4 separate regions of the Homo sapiens genome follow, and all the other regions are linked to region 4. Evidence: promoter capture Hi-C in 16 types of primary human blood cells and fetal thymus (Javierre and others, 2016). All regions are on one chromosome and are shown on one strand. Each heading gives the region's core, a stretch centred on a gene start or on the middle of the fragment in contact. The rest is flanking DNA. Distances are from core to core; before and after follow the strand shown.

Region 1 (2,700 bases), core at 1-2,500, 470 kb before region 4:
GGAGCACACAGGCCAAGGGTGGGCAGGCGTACAGCAGGGCAGGCAGGGGACAGGAGCCATCAGGAGGCCCAGGTGAGGCTCTGAGGAAGGAGGGCTGAACATGGGGGCCACAGGGTAGGCCCAGCTCTCGCTGTCCCGGCCCCTCCCCTTCTGGAAGCCGCCCTCAGTCTGTGTTGGAGGTTTCCAGGTTATGTCACAGTGCTGGGTCCCACTGGAGGGACGTGAGGCTCTGCCCCGGCTTCCAGGCCCCAGGCTGAGCATGACAGCAGGAGCGAGGTACCTGAGCGTGATCACCTCCAGGCTGGGCATCTCCTGGCAAATGGAGATCTAGGAGGAAAAGAACATGACTAGCAAGCATGGCACAGCAGGGCATCGCGGCCGCACTGCCATCAGCCACAGAGAACTGTCGAAGCCACGGCCAACCCACTTCCGGGGCCTGAGGGGCACGGCCTTACTCAGCCAGTGTGCCCAGGGTGAATGCCCAGGGCCTGAGGGGAGCGGCCCTGCTCAGCCAGTGTGCCCAGGGTGAATGCCCAGGGCCTGAGGGGAGCGGCCCTGCTCAGCCAGTGTGCCCAGGGTGAATGCCCAGGGCCTGAGGGGAGCGGCCCTGCTCAGCCAGTGTGCCCAGGGTGAATGCCCAGGGCCTGAGGGGAGCGGCCCTGCTCAGCCAGTGTGCCCAGGATGAATGCCCACGAGTATGCCAGGTTCTCCTCTGACACCACCTTGCAGCCCAGACGCCCCGCAGACTGAAGGAGAAATGTGAGGCTCCTCCTTGCACGCACTCTGTCTTTATTAAATTTTACGACAGCATCGTTGCTGTCAGATGCTGCCAGCAGTGGAGACAGAGCATTCATTACTTTAGATGCCCTCAAAGGACATCAGGTAAGGGGACCCCAATGTCCCCTACGCAGGGATAGAAAGCAAGGAAAGGATGGAAATCCCTTCTTGATAACAGGTCTAGGCCAAAAGGAAGACAGGCTTGAGACTGGATCTCAGATCACATTGGTACTGTCAATTCAGGGGTGAGGTGCCCGGGGTGGTCCACAAAGCCTCACAACCTGCAAAGCTCCCACATATGTGAGAGCCCACCATACGCCAGGCATGGCACCAGCAGCTCACAGCCTGGTCAGATGCGTCCCATGTATAAGTGACTCGTGTCTATGGACATGGTACGTTTGTATATTCACTGCTAAACATGCAGTATTTCAGTTACAGCACAAAACAGATTACACCCAGATGCCACGTATCCAGGCTTTTTTTTGTCTTTAAGAAAAGGTACAGTTCAAATTAAAAAAACAAAGGAAAATAAAGAGATAAATAATTGCGCTGGACATGGTGGCTCATACCTGTAATTCCAATACTTTGCGAGGCTGAGGCAGGTGGATCACCTGAACTCAGGGGGTTTGAGACCAGCCTGGCCGACACAGTGAAACTCCATCTCTACTAAAAAGTACAAAAATTAGCCAGGCATGGTGGTGGGTGCCTGTAGTCCCAGCTACTCAAAGGCTGAGGCAGGAAAATTGCTTGAACCCGGGAGGCAGAGGTTGCAGTGAGCCAAGATCGTGCCACTGTACTCCAGCCTGGGCAACAGAGAGAGACTCCGTGTAAAAAAAAAAAAAAAAGAAAGAAACAATTGGTATGCGATCCCTGTGTAAGTTGGGGACATTTTGGACTGAGAAAGACAATGAGGGAGAGAAGAAAAAAATCTTTCACAGACGCACACACTCAAGTTCTCCCAGCAGGGCTTATTCTCTGCCTGCCTTTGGGGCAGCGGCAAGGGGGTACAAGGCTAGATGTGACCAAGAAGAGGGGGTGTAGACCTTCAACTTCCCCGTAACAAAGTAAAACAAGCCCTCCTGGGATTCCTTTCCAGGTGAGAGCAAGTTCCAAACTATTGCTCCCCTCCTCTGCGACCAAGTGACAAAGGGTGTTTCATTTATAGGGATGTTGACGGGAACTGCAAAATAAGCCTGGCACTAGAGAATTGTTTTTCCATTAGTGGTTCTGCAGAATGAAAACCGCTAAGTGAACAAAGTACCAAGTGTGGGACTGAATTGATAGGTGCAGTTTTGTCAACTTAAAAATTCTCTTGGGAAAGAAGCTACAACATTTGGGTTGAGGCTATTTGGAGATGATCAGTGCAATACTTACATCTGTGAGGCAATACTTACATCTGTGAGGCGGCTGCCCCTGGGGAGAGAAAAGATACATACTTTAATTTTGTTAAAGTTGAATAAAAAACACTGAAGACAAAAATTCCAAAAATCACCGATGACTCCCTACAAACCTTAAGATTCTAGGATTTTAATGGCATGGCAAAAAAGGAAGGTTGCCCAGATAACTGGCAAAGGTGTAAACAATTGTTTTAGCTGATTTTCAACTAAACTGTATGTTTGACGTTGGGGTGGTACTTTTTAGATAAGGAGCAGCAGGGTTGCTCCATTTGTAAGACACAAAAAGATGAACTCTTCCTCATGGTCCCTGAGTAGCAGAAGGTTCATTTCTCTCACTGACAGACATAAACAAGGGCGTCTTTATAAGAGGTCAAGTTCAAAGGGTGAACAGGCAACTTATGAAGCAAACTTTAAAAGCCTGAAACAGGGTTGTTGTTTCTCCCAGCTTAGTGGGAGTACTGACCACCCCATGCAAAACAAAGAAATGCATTATTGAAAGCAAATGACACGGGAATTGTAGCCAAAA
Region 2 (2,700 bases), core at 133-2,632, 310 kb before region 4:
GCTGCATAAATATCTTCTTTTGAGAAGTGTCTGTTCATGTCCTTTGCCCACTCTTTGATGGGGTTGTTTTTTTCTTGTACATTTGTTTGAGTTCATTGTAGATTCTGGATATTAGCTCTTTGTCAGATGAGTAGGTTGTGAAAATTTTCTCCCATTTTGTAGGTTGCCTGTTCCCTCTGATGGTAGTTTCTTTTGCTGTGCAGAAGCTCTTTAGCTTAATTAGATCCCATTTGTCAATTTTGGCTTTTGTTGCCATTGCTTTTGGTGTTTTAGACATGAAGTCCTTGCCCATGCCTATGTCCTGAATGGTAGGGCCTAGGTTTTCTTCTAGGGTTTTTATGGTTTTAGGTCTAACGTTTAAGTCTTTAATCCATCTTGAATTGATTTTTGTATCTTTTTTCCTTTTCTAAGTGAGAGGGCTCCCCTCCCAACTCTGTTTCTGATGGGGAAGTTAGCAGAGGACCAGCGACCCCTGCTGGCGGAGAGCTGCAAATTTGGCAGGGCACATTTGAGACACTCTCAACAGATAGAACCAGCCTCTAAAATATCTTTTCAGTCCCAAACTCGATTCCAAGCTTCAGGCTGAGGTCTTAGAAAGAAAAAACAGGTCTGAGGGATCCAAAGCCAGGGAACAGGCACAATGTAAATGGGTAGCACCAATTCCTGCTGACTAAACCCCCCACCCTATGGAAGGAGGCCATGCTTCATGGCATAAACAGGCCCAGGGAACTGAAGGTTTGCCGACAGCAGGGAGAAAGGGAGGCATAGGCAAGGGCGGTTCGTTCCTAGTCTCCAGGTTTTCCCTGCTTCATGGGTACATACCACATTAGTACCCATGGCTGGCACCTGCCAAGGTCGCCAGGGCTCAGGGATAAGGAGTGGAGACTGAAAGGATCATGCTCGCTTTCTCTCTCCATCACACCCTGAGTTTTCGCTGAAAGAAGGAAGAGAATGAGGGGCTTCTCTATTCACTGTCTCCAGTTCTCTTCAACACCCCCAGTTTATACTCCTCTGTAGTGTACCCTGAACCATCGGGACTGCTTTGACCCTCAGAATCTGCAGGAGAAACACCTCAGAGCCCTCTGCACAAAGGTTTGGCCAAATTATGAAGGACTGGGTTGGCCCTAGGAAGGAATCATTCATTTCCATACCATTCGGCTGTTGAGACTTTTCTGTAGATGTGAGGACAGATGGCCTGAGGCCCCGTATGTGCAGGGCCTTTCTATACCTTGCAAGGAAATCCAGACCTTGCCGACAGTGTAGGATTCATCCAGCCCTCCTGTTTGCCATCTCAGAGAAGGCTGCAAGGGGTAAGCCCAGGGAATTAAAGATACGAGTCCTAGAGGCACCCCGGAAAGAGAGGCCAGCTCCCTCAAGCCCTGCTCCTCTGGGTCCACCCCGACCTCCCTATCCAGCTTCAGCCTCTCACTTGGCCCCTCCTACAAATTCTCACTCTAAACAAGCCCCAGTCTCACTCTTGCTCCTCCAACAGATGCCTGGTGAATTTGGGCCAGCAAGGTCCAGGTCCCCTTCTCCTTACAGGACTTAAAGTAAATTAAGGGGGGATCTGGGCAAGTTTTCAGATGATCCTCATAGGTATATAGAGGCTTTCTAGAATTTCAACCAAATAGTTGAACTCTCCTGGAGAGAGACGTTATGTTACTTTTGAATCAGACTGTGATAGACACTGAGAAACAGGCCACTCTACAAGCTGCAGAGAGATTTGGGGATGAGCTTTGCATCACATGTAGCATCAGGAAAGGGGGTGAATATTATCCAACCGGAAGAGAAGCAGTACCAGTGAATGACCGTAAATGGGACCCCAATCATGAGATGGAAGCCGGGCGGAGGAGACACTTTCAGGTGTGCGTAATAGAAGGCTTACGTAAGACTAAGAACAAGTTGTCCATGATCAACCAGGAATTTGATGAAAATCCAATCGCCTTCTAGGAAAGGCTAAGAGAGGCCTTGGTAAAGCTCACCTCTCTCTCTCCTGGTTCAGTTGAGGGACAGTGAATCCCAAAGCATAACTTTATTACTCAGGCGGCTCCTGACATCAGGAGGAAGTTGCAAAAACTGGGCCATTGGACCAGATAGTACATTAGAGGACCTCCTAAAAGTGGCCACCTCAGTCTTTTATAATAGAGACGGAGGCCCAGGACAGTGAGAGGAGACACAGGAAAGAGACAAAAGCTTCAGTGGCCACCGTGTACGTCCACAAACCCCAGAATTCCCAGGGTGCACCTGTTAACTGCTAAAGATATGGCAAGAATAGTTACTTCATTCTAAAGTTTATTTGCTCTTGTACAAGGTTTAATTTCTTGCACCAGGGGTGAAACAGCTCAGGGTGCAACTTTGCTGTTAGTATATTTCACTTCTTATCTTTGTGATCTTTGGGAGTACATTCTTTCTTTTTATAACACACATGTTTAACCCATGCATACTTAACCTTATAAAACCTGGGTTTTTTTTTTTCTCTCATGCCTAGAACCATCAAACTCCAAGTGGACAGGCAACTGGAGCCTCAGATAATGACTCCCCTTTGCTAGGAACCCTTAGACAGACCTCTGGGAGGAATTTGACTGCCGTTTTCTCAAAAACAACGCCCCCTGTCAGCGGGAAGCAGCTAAGACAGGTCATCGTCCATATTCTAATAGCAGTTAGATGTACGTTTTCAGAGAGGGGAAATGATACAGGAGT
Region 3 (2,700 bases), core at 112-2,611, 330 kb after region 4:
ACTGGCTCTTGGCAGAGCTCAGTTCCTTGTGACCATAGGCCTGTGGCGCTTGGCTCCTGGAGACTGCCCATAGCCCCTGCCCTGTGGCCCTCTTCCCAGCATGGCAGTTTGCCTCTCAAGGCGTATAGGCAGGGTCTCCCCTCTTCCTTTCCTCTCTGACTTCTCTCATCCTTCAGGGGTTTACCTGATCAGGCCAGGCCCACCCAGGAAAATCTCCCTTTTGATGAACTCAGTCAGCTGATGAGATGCCTTAATTGCATCTGTAAAATCCCTTCACCTTTGCCTTATGTAACACTATATCCCATCATGTTCACAGTTCCTCCCGCCTGCAAGGCAGGGGAGTGTACAAGGTGTGTACCCCAGGGGCAGGATGCTAACACTGCACTGACTGAGAAAAGAATTTGTCTTACCTGTACCTGACAGGTGTGTACCTGAAAGAGGTGTGTGCCCGACGGTGTGTGCGACCGATGGGTGTATGCTCGACAGTGGTGTGTGCGCCCACCGGGTGTGTGCCCGACGGTGTGTGCGCCCGATGGGTGTGTGTGCCCGACAGTGGTGTGTGCGCCCGATGGGTGTGTGTGCCCGACAGTGGTGTGTGCGCCCGCCGGGTGTGCGCCCGACGGGGGTGTGTGCCCGACAGTGGTGTGTGCGCCCGACGGGGGTGTGTGCCCGACAGTGGTGTGTGCGCCCGACGGGGGTGTGTGCCCGACAGTGGTGTGTGCGCCCGACGGGGGTGTGTGCCCGACTGGTGTGTGCGCCCGACGGGTGTGTGTGCCCGACAGTGGTGTGTGCGCCCGATGGGTGTGTGTGCCCGACAGTGGTGTGTGCGCCCGCCGGGTGTGTGCCCGACAGTGGTGTGTGCCCGACAGTGGTGTGTGCGCCCGACGGGGGTGTGTGCCCGACAGTGGTGTGTGCGCCCGCTGGGTGTGTGCCCAACAGTGGTGTGTGCGCCCGATGGGTGTGTGTGCCCGACAGTGGTGTGTGCGCCCGCCGGGTGTGTGCCCGACAGTGGTGTGTGCCCGACAGTGGTGTGTGCACCCGACGGGGGTGTGTGCCCGACAGTGGTGTGTGCGCCCGCCGGGTGTGTGCCCGACAGTGGTGTGTGCGCCCGACGGGGGTGTGTGCCCGACAGTGGTGTGTGCGCCCGATGGGTGTGTGTGCCCGACAGTGGTGTGTGCGCCCGACGGGTGTGTGCGCCTGACAGGAGTGTGTCTGACATGGGTGTGTGAGCGCCCGGCAGGGGTACGTACACTCGGGGTGTGTGTGCCTGACGTGTGTGTGTGTCTGACATGGGTGTGTGCACCTGGCAGAGGTGTGTGCGCCCAGCAGAGGCATATGCCTGACAGAGGCGTGGCTTAGTGTTCAGGGTCCATAGTACATGAAGAATCCTACAGATCCCTATGGACAAGGCAGTACAGTAGAATTTGGGGCAAAAGACTTGCACAGATTTTTTTTTTTTTTTTTTACACAAGATGAAATTGAAATGGCCAATGAGCACACCCTCATTCATCCAGCGAGCATTGAGGACCCCCTAGAGGCCAGGCCCATGAGTGATGAAGATCCCGAGGATGAAGACGCCTTGCCAGCCAGGTCAGTGGGTGATGGCATTTGTGGTCAGGGGCACCCAGCACCACACCCCTGGCTGCCGTTGACAGCTGGGTGAGTCCCCTGCTGCCTGGGCAGAGCCACCTCTGCAGATGCCCAGGTGGGTCTCCTGGGGCAGGGACTGGCAGGCTGTAGCCTGTGAGCAGATTCTGGGACCTGAAAGCTAAGGATGGTTTTTACATTTTTAAGGAGTTATAAAACAAACAGAAAAGGAAGAATCTGCAACAGAGACCATAAGTGGTCTGCAAAGCCAAAGGTTTATAGAAATGGGCAGACCTGCTCTAAGGGGCCTGCTTGCTGATGGGGCCTTGTCTGGATTGCCAGTTCTACTAATTCTGGAATTGGAAGTTCTCATGGAGGACTGTGTGCTGGGTAGGATTTCCAGATCCCAAGATGCTTTGGCTGCATTCAAACCCACAGGGCAGAGAGAGCCCTCCGCCCTGTTCCTTGGCAGAGGCCTCCACACTCCGTGTGCTGACCGGCCTGCCAGAATGACAACAACTGTCAGCTGTCTGCATCCTCCTGGCACCCCTTAGTGTGGCTGCATACTGAGGGGAGTTAAAACCATAAACAGGTGGAGAATATCTCCTTCCAGGGAATCTCAGAGGACTCAGTGATTTAAGAGGAAAAGACCAAACTGCTGCTTTCAGCAGGACCACTGTGTGCTGCCTGCCTGTCAGTGCATACAGATACGGGGTCCTGAGTTGGTGACCTCAAAACCGTGAGCGGTAGATAGACAGAGTAGCCCCTAATGAAGCAGAAAGACTAGAAGAGACAGGACCTAATTTAGGTCGAAAAGCAAAGTGAGGCCTCAGAAGATGAAGGCAGAGTGCGAGAAAGGCTTTCTGGAACTGACAAGTCTGCCATCCACATTTCGAAATGTATTAGAAAAATTGGAAAAAAAACATATGAAGTGTAGAATGTCAGCAGAAAGGTGTGGCCACAGTCAAGAGGGCCCTCTGTGGGTCCTGTGGTCCTGGACTGCAGGTGGGCCCAGTGGAGACTGTGCTGCCCCTCACCCTCCCCGGTGGGTCCTCTGTGATGGGGGTGGGTGAAGCTGAGTGCTGTCCTGAAAATCTGACCATGCACAGCCCC
Region 4 (2,700 bases), core at 78-2,577:
GATTTAAAAGTTATGAGAGGCTATGCATACATTAAATGCAAATACCACGCCACCTTATAGTAGGGACTTGAGCATCCGAGGATTCTGGTATCTGCAGCGGGGCCTGGAACCAATCCCCTCCAGATACCAAGGGAAGAATGACCATACGTGAGTGAGCCTGTATTTGCAACGTTTTGGTCTGCTTAAGCCAAACATCAACTCTTACTGGGCGGTGTCACCAATAGTTTTACGAAATCAAGCTACATGTATATTCACCACTTATTTTTTTTCTCACATTCATTCTTTTAGCTTAACTTTCTTCCAAAATTATCCTCAATCTAATTACAAAAGCAGCAGCTAACTTTATTAAGGGTTACACATCAGGTATTTTGCTAAGCACTTCACCTGCAGTATCAAGTTTAACCTTTTAAGACAAGGAAACTGCAGAGACAGAGAGAGGAACAAGGTCAAAGAGCTAACAAGCAGAGAGGCCGGGTCTGAACTCAGGCCCTGCTCTTAGCCGGCTACTATCTCGTCTCCATCGGCGACTCAGGCTCCTGGCGCTTTCAACACAATGGTATTCCAAGACTTCTCGCAGCAGTTCTTCCAAGCGGGCATTCGGTGTAAAACGATGGAATGCCGAGTGTTCCTAGGTTCTCATTTCTCCCTTCGCTCTCCTCAGACATTAGAAATATCTAATTTACCGGGTAGGAAAGCACTCAAGAGGTTTCCTCAACACTACCTAGGAGGAGTGACAGGTGGCACTGTTCAAAAACCCTTTTCCTTCATTAGAGGGAAAGCCAAAATCTGACCTTTCAAAGCTCCACCAACGAGCCTTTCCCCTTTTAACGCATACACTTTTCCCTCCTAATTCCGCAGCAGCAAGTCAGGCCTTCTTCCTCAAGCTCTCACTGCACGTTCTCAAGGCTGCCAAGAAAAGAAAAAATAGAAGAGAAAAAAACAAGCCCGCAAAGACTCAACTGTGTGTGCTCTCAACTAACACGGCGCCGGCGCTGCCTTTACTGATGCTGGGAAGGCTTCTCTTCACGACTTCACGCGTGAGAGTGGGCAGCGGGCGCAGGGCGCGGCACTCCGCGGGACCCACAGGGGGGCTCACGGTGGAGGCCCCGGGCCCGGCTCCCCCGCCAGGCTCCCTGCCCCAGCCCCGCCGGACGACGCGGGCCCGGGAGCAGGAACGCGGGACGCTGCTGACGGCCCGGGTCCCCAGACTCACGTTTGTACTCGGCCATCAGCCTCTTGAGCGCGGTCCCCGCCATGGCCCCGCAACAGCTGCGCCGAGCGACCTCGCCTCAGCCGCGCGCGTGCCTCCTGCCCCGACACCGGGGACTGCTTCCGGGCCACCGTCGCGGGCCCAGGAACTCTTCCGGGGCGTGGCGCGTGCGCGATCGCCGAGGCGCGCTGTCCGGGTGGTGGGAGCTCAACCCGCGACCGCGGCTACGATTCTCTTGGCTCCTGCCCTCGCCTTAGTCGCTCTGCGGGGTTGGTTCGGTCCCGGCACTTCCAGAGGCCTCAGGGTCCTGGTCTTGTAGAGACTTCCTGAACGGTGGCGCCTGTTCCAGTGTGTGTGCGCTAACTGCCTGTTCTGTGCCAGCCGCGCGTGGCCGAAGGGCGGGAGGACGGGGGTTGTGGAGGGGAGGATGGAGGTTGGGGAGACAGGGCGGGGACGAGATAAGAGGTCGGGGGGTGGGGAGGATGGTCGCGGGGCGGTCTGGGGCTGGAGACAAGGGGCCTGAGGTGCGGGTACGCACTGAACATTCCAACCGTCCCCAGCCGGCCGGGTTTCAGGTTTGAAAAGGTGGGAAGGTTAGCTGTCCTGGCGCTTTTCCTCCACGTGTTGTGCGGCTCCGCTGGAGTTCGGGTCCAGCACCTTCTACTCCGAGGGAGAGAGCCGCGGGGAGAGCCCTGTTCGGGCCCGCGGCTCGAACTGACCGCCGGCTCTGCCGAGCAGCCTCGACCCCAGGGCACCCCCGGGAGAGAGGGCGCGGCTCAGGTCCCTGCCCGAACCCCTGGGGTGCTGAGAGACTCCCCAGCGCCCCGCGTGGGCTCCCGGCCTCTCCACAGTTGAGGATCCTGTAAGGGGCGAGCCCTTTTTCCCATAATGGCTGTAGTGAGTGGGTGTGCTTTCCCGATTGACCCGCTGTGAGGTGAGCGATTTTAACCCACATCCTTACTGACTTCACAGCACAGTAGGTGCTTCGTGGCTGTCCGGTGCAAGGATGTATATACACACACACCTTTGCAAAAAAAGTTTGCATCTCTTGCCTGGCTGTTTGTTGCAATAATCTATCATTTGTCTTTTCCTTTCCAGCATTGCAGATGATCCCTTGAAAAGAAGTCTGATCACATTCACACTCTGCTCCGCCCATTTCACTCAGTAAAGCTGAAGTCCTGCAGTGCTTTGCTCTGCCTCCGGTCACCCCGCCATACTCCCAGACCCTCCCTCCCTCTCACTCCACTCCAGCTGCCCTGGCCTGGTTCAGAGTCCCTGACTCTTCCCTCCCCGGAAACACTTTCTGGCGGCTCTTGTCCCCGACTCTTCCCACCTGCTCTTTCAGTCTTTGCTCAAATGTTGCCTCTTCAGTGTGGCCTAGGCCGTCACCACCCGGCCTTCACCGCATACCTTTTTCTCTGCAACACCTACTCAACACACCGTACTATAGAACTTACTGGCATGCTATAAATGTATTACCCTTATCTGTT

What was found. Contacts are between HindIII fragments. The CHiCAGO score rates a contact against its expected background, and 5 or more counts as called.
Region 1: a fragment that was not itself captured here is called in contact with the fragment with the promoter of UBE2G2 in region 4 in 4 of 17 cell types (total CD8 T cells, neutrophils, naive CD8 T cells and 1 more); the score reaches 7.5 in total CD8 T cells.
Region 2: a fragment that was not itself captured here is called in contact with the fragment with the promoter of UBE2G2 in region 4 in 1 of 17 cell types (naive CD8 T cells); the score reaches 5.0 in naive CD8 T cells.
Region 3: a contact is called between a fragment that was not itself captured here and the fragment with the promoter of UBE2G2 in region 4, in 1 of 17 cell types (megakaryocytes). The highest score is 5.8, in megakaryocytes.

The regions. Positions count from the first base shown.
Region 1 is chr21:44,335,478-44,338,177 of GRCh38, forward strand. CFAP410 (cilia and flagella associated protein 410) reads right to left here. Exons shown (of 7, transcript NM_004928.3): 2 at 2,172-2,190; 3 at 281-327. Among named protein-coding and RNA genes, the nearest start is that of CFAP410, 2.6 kb to the right of the region's middle. The HindIII fragment of the contact is 2,953 bases long and covers 1-2,700 here.
Region 2 is chr21:44,487,543-44,490,242 of GRCh38, forward strand. The region is part of intron 1 of LINC02575 (long intergenic non-protein coding RNA 2575); the gene reads left to right. Among named protein-coding and RNA genes, the nearest start is that of LINC02575, 3.3 kb to the left of the region's middle. The HindIII fragment of the contact is 1,618 bases long and covers 574-2,191 here.
Region 3 is chr21:45,133,243-45,135,942 of GRCh38, forward strand. All of the region lies in intron 2 of ADARB1 (adenosine deaminase RNA specific B1), which reads left to right. Among named protein-coding and RNA genes, the nearest start is that of ADARB1, 60 kb to the left of the region's middle. RefSeq lists enhancers at 271-771, 772-1,272. The HindIII fragment of the contact is 4,546 bases long and covers 1-2,700 here.
Region 4 is chr21:44,800,493-44,803,192 of GRCh38, forward strand. It overlaps UBE2G2 (ubiquitin conjugating enzyme E2 G2), which reads right to left and starts at 1,328. Exons shown (of 6, transcript NM_003343.6): 1 at 1,214-1,328. The coding sequence starts at 1,256. LINC01424 (long intergenic non-protein coding RNA 1424) reads left to right here and starts at 1,749. Exons shown (of 2, transcript NR_109928.1): 1 at 1,749-2,144. RefSeq lists an enhancer at 554-1,509 and silencers at 1,057-1,116, 1,177-1,396, 1,897-1,946. The HindIII fragment of the contact is 6,659 bases long and covers 1-2,700 here.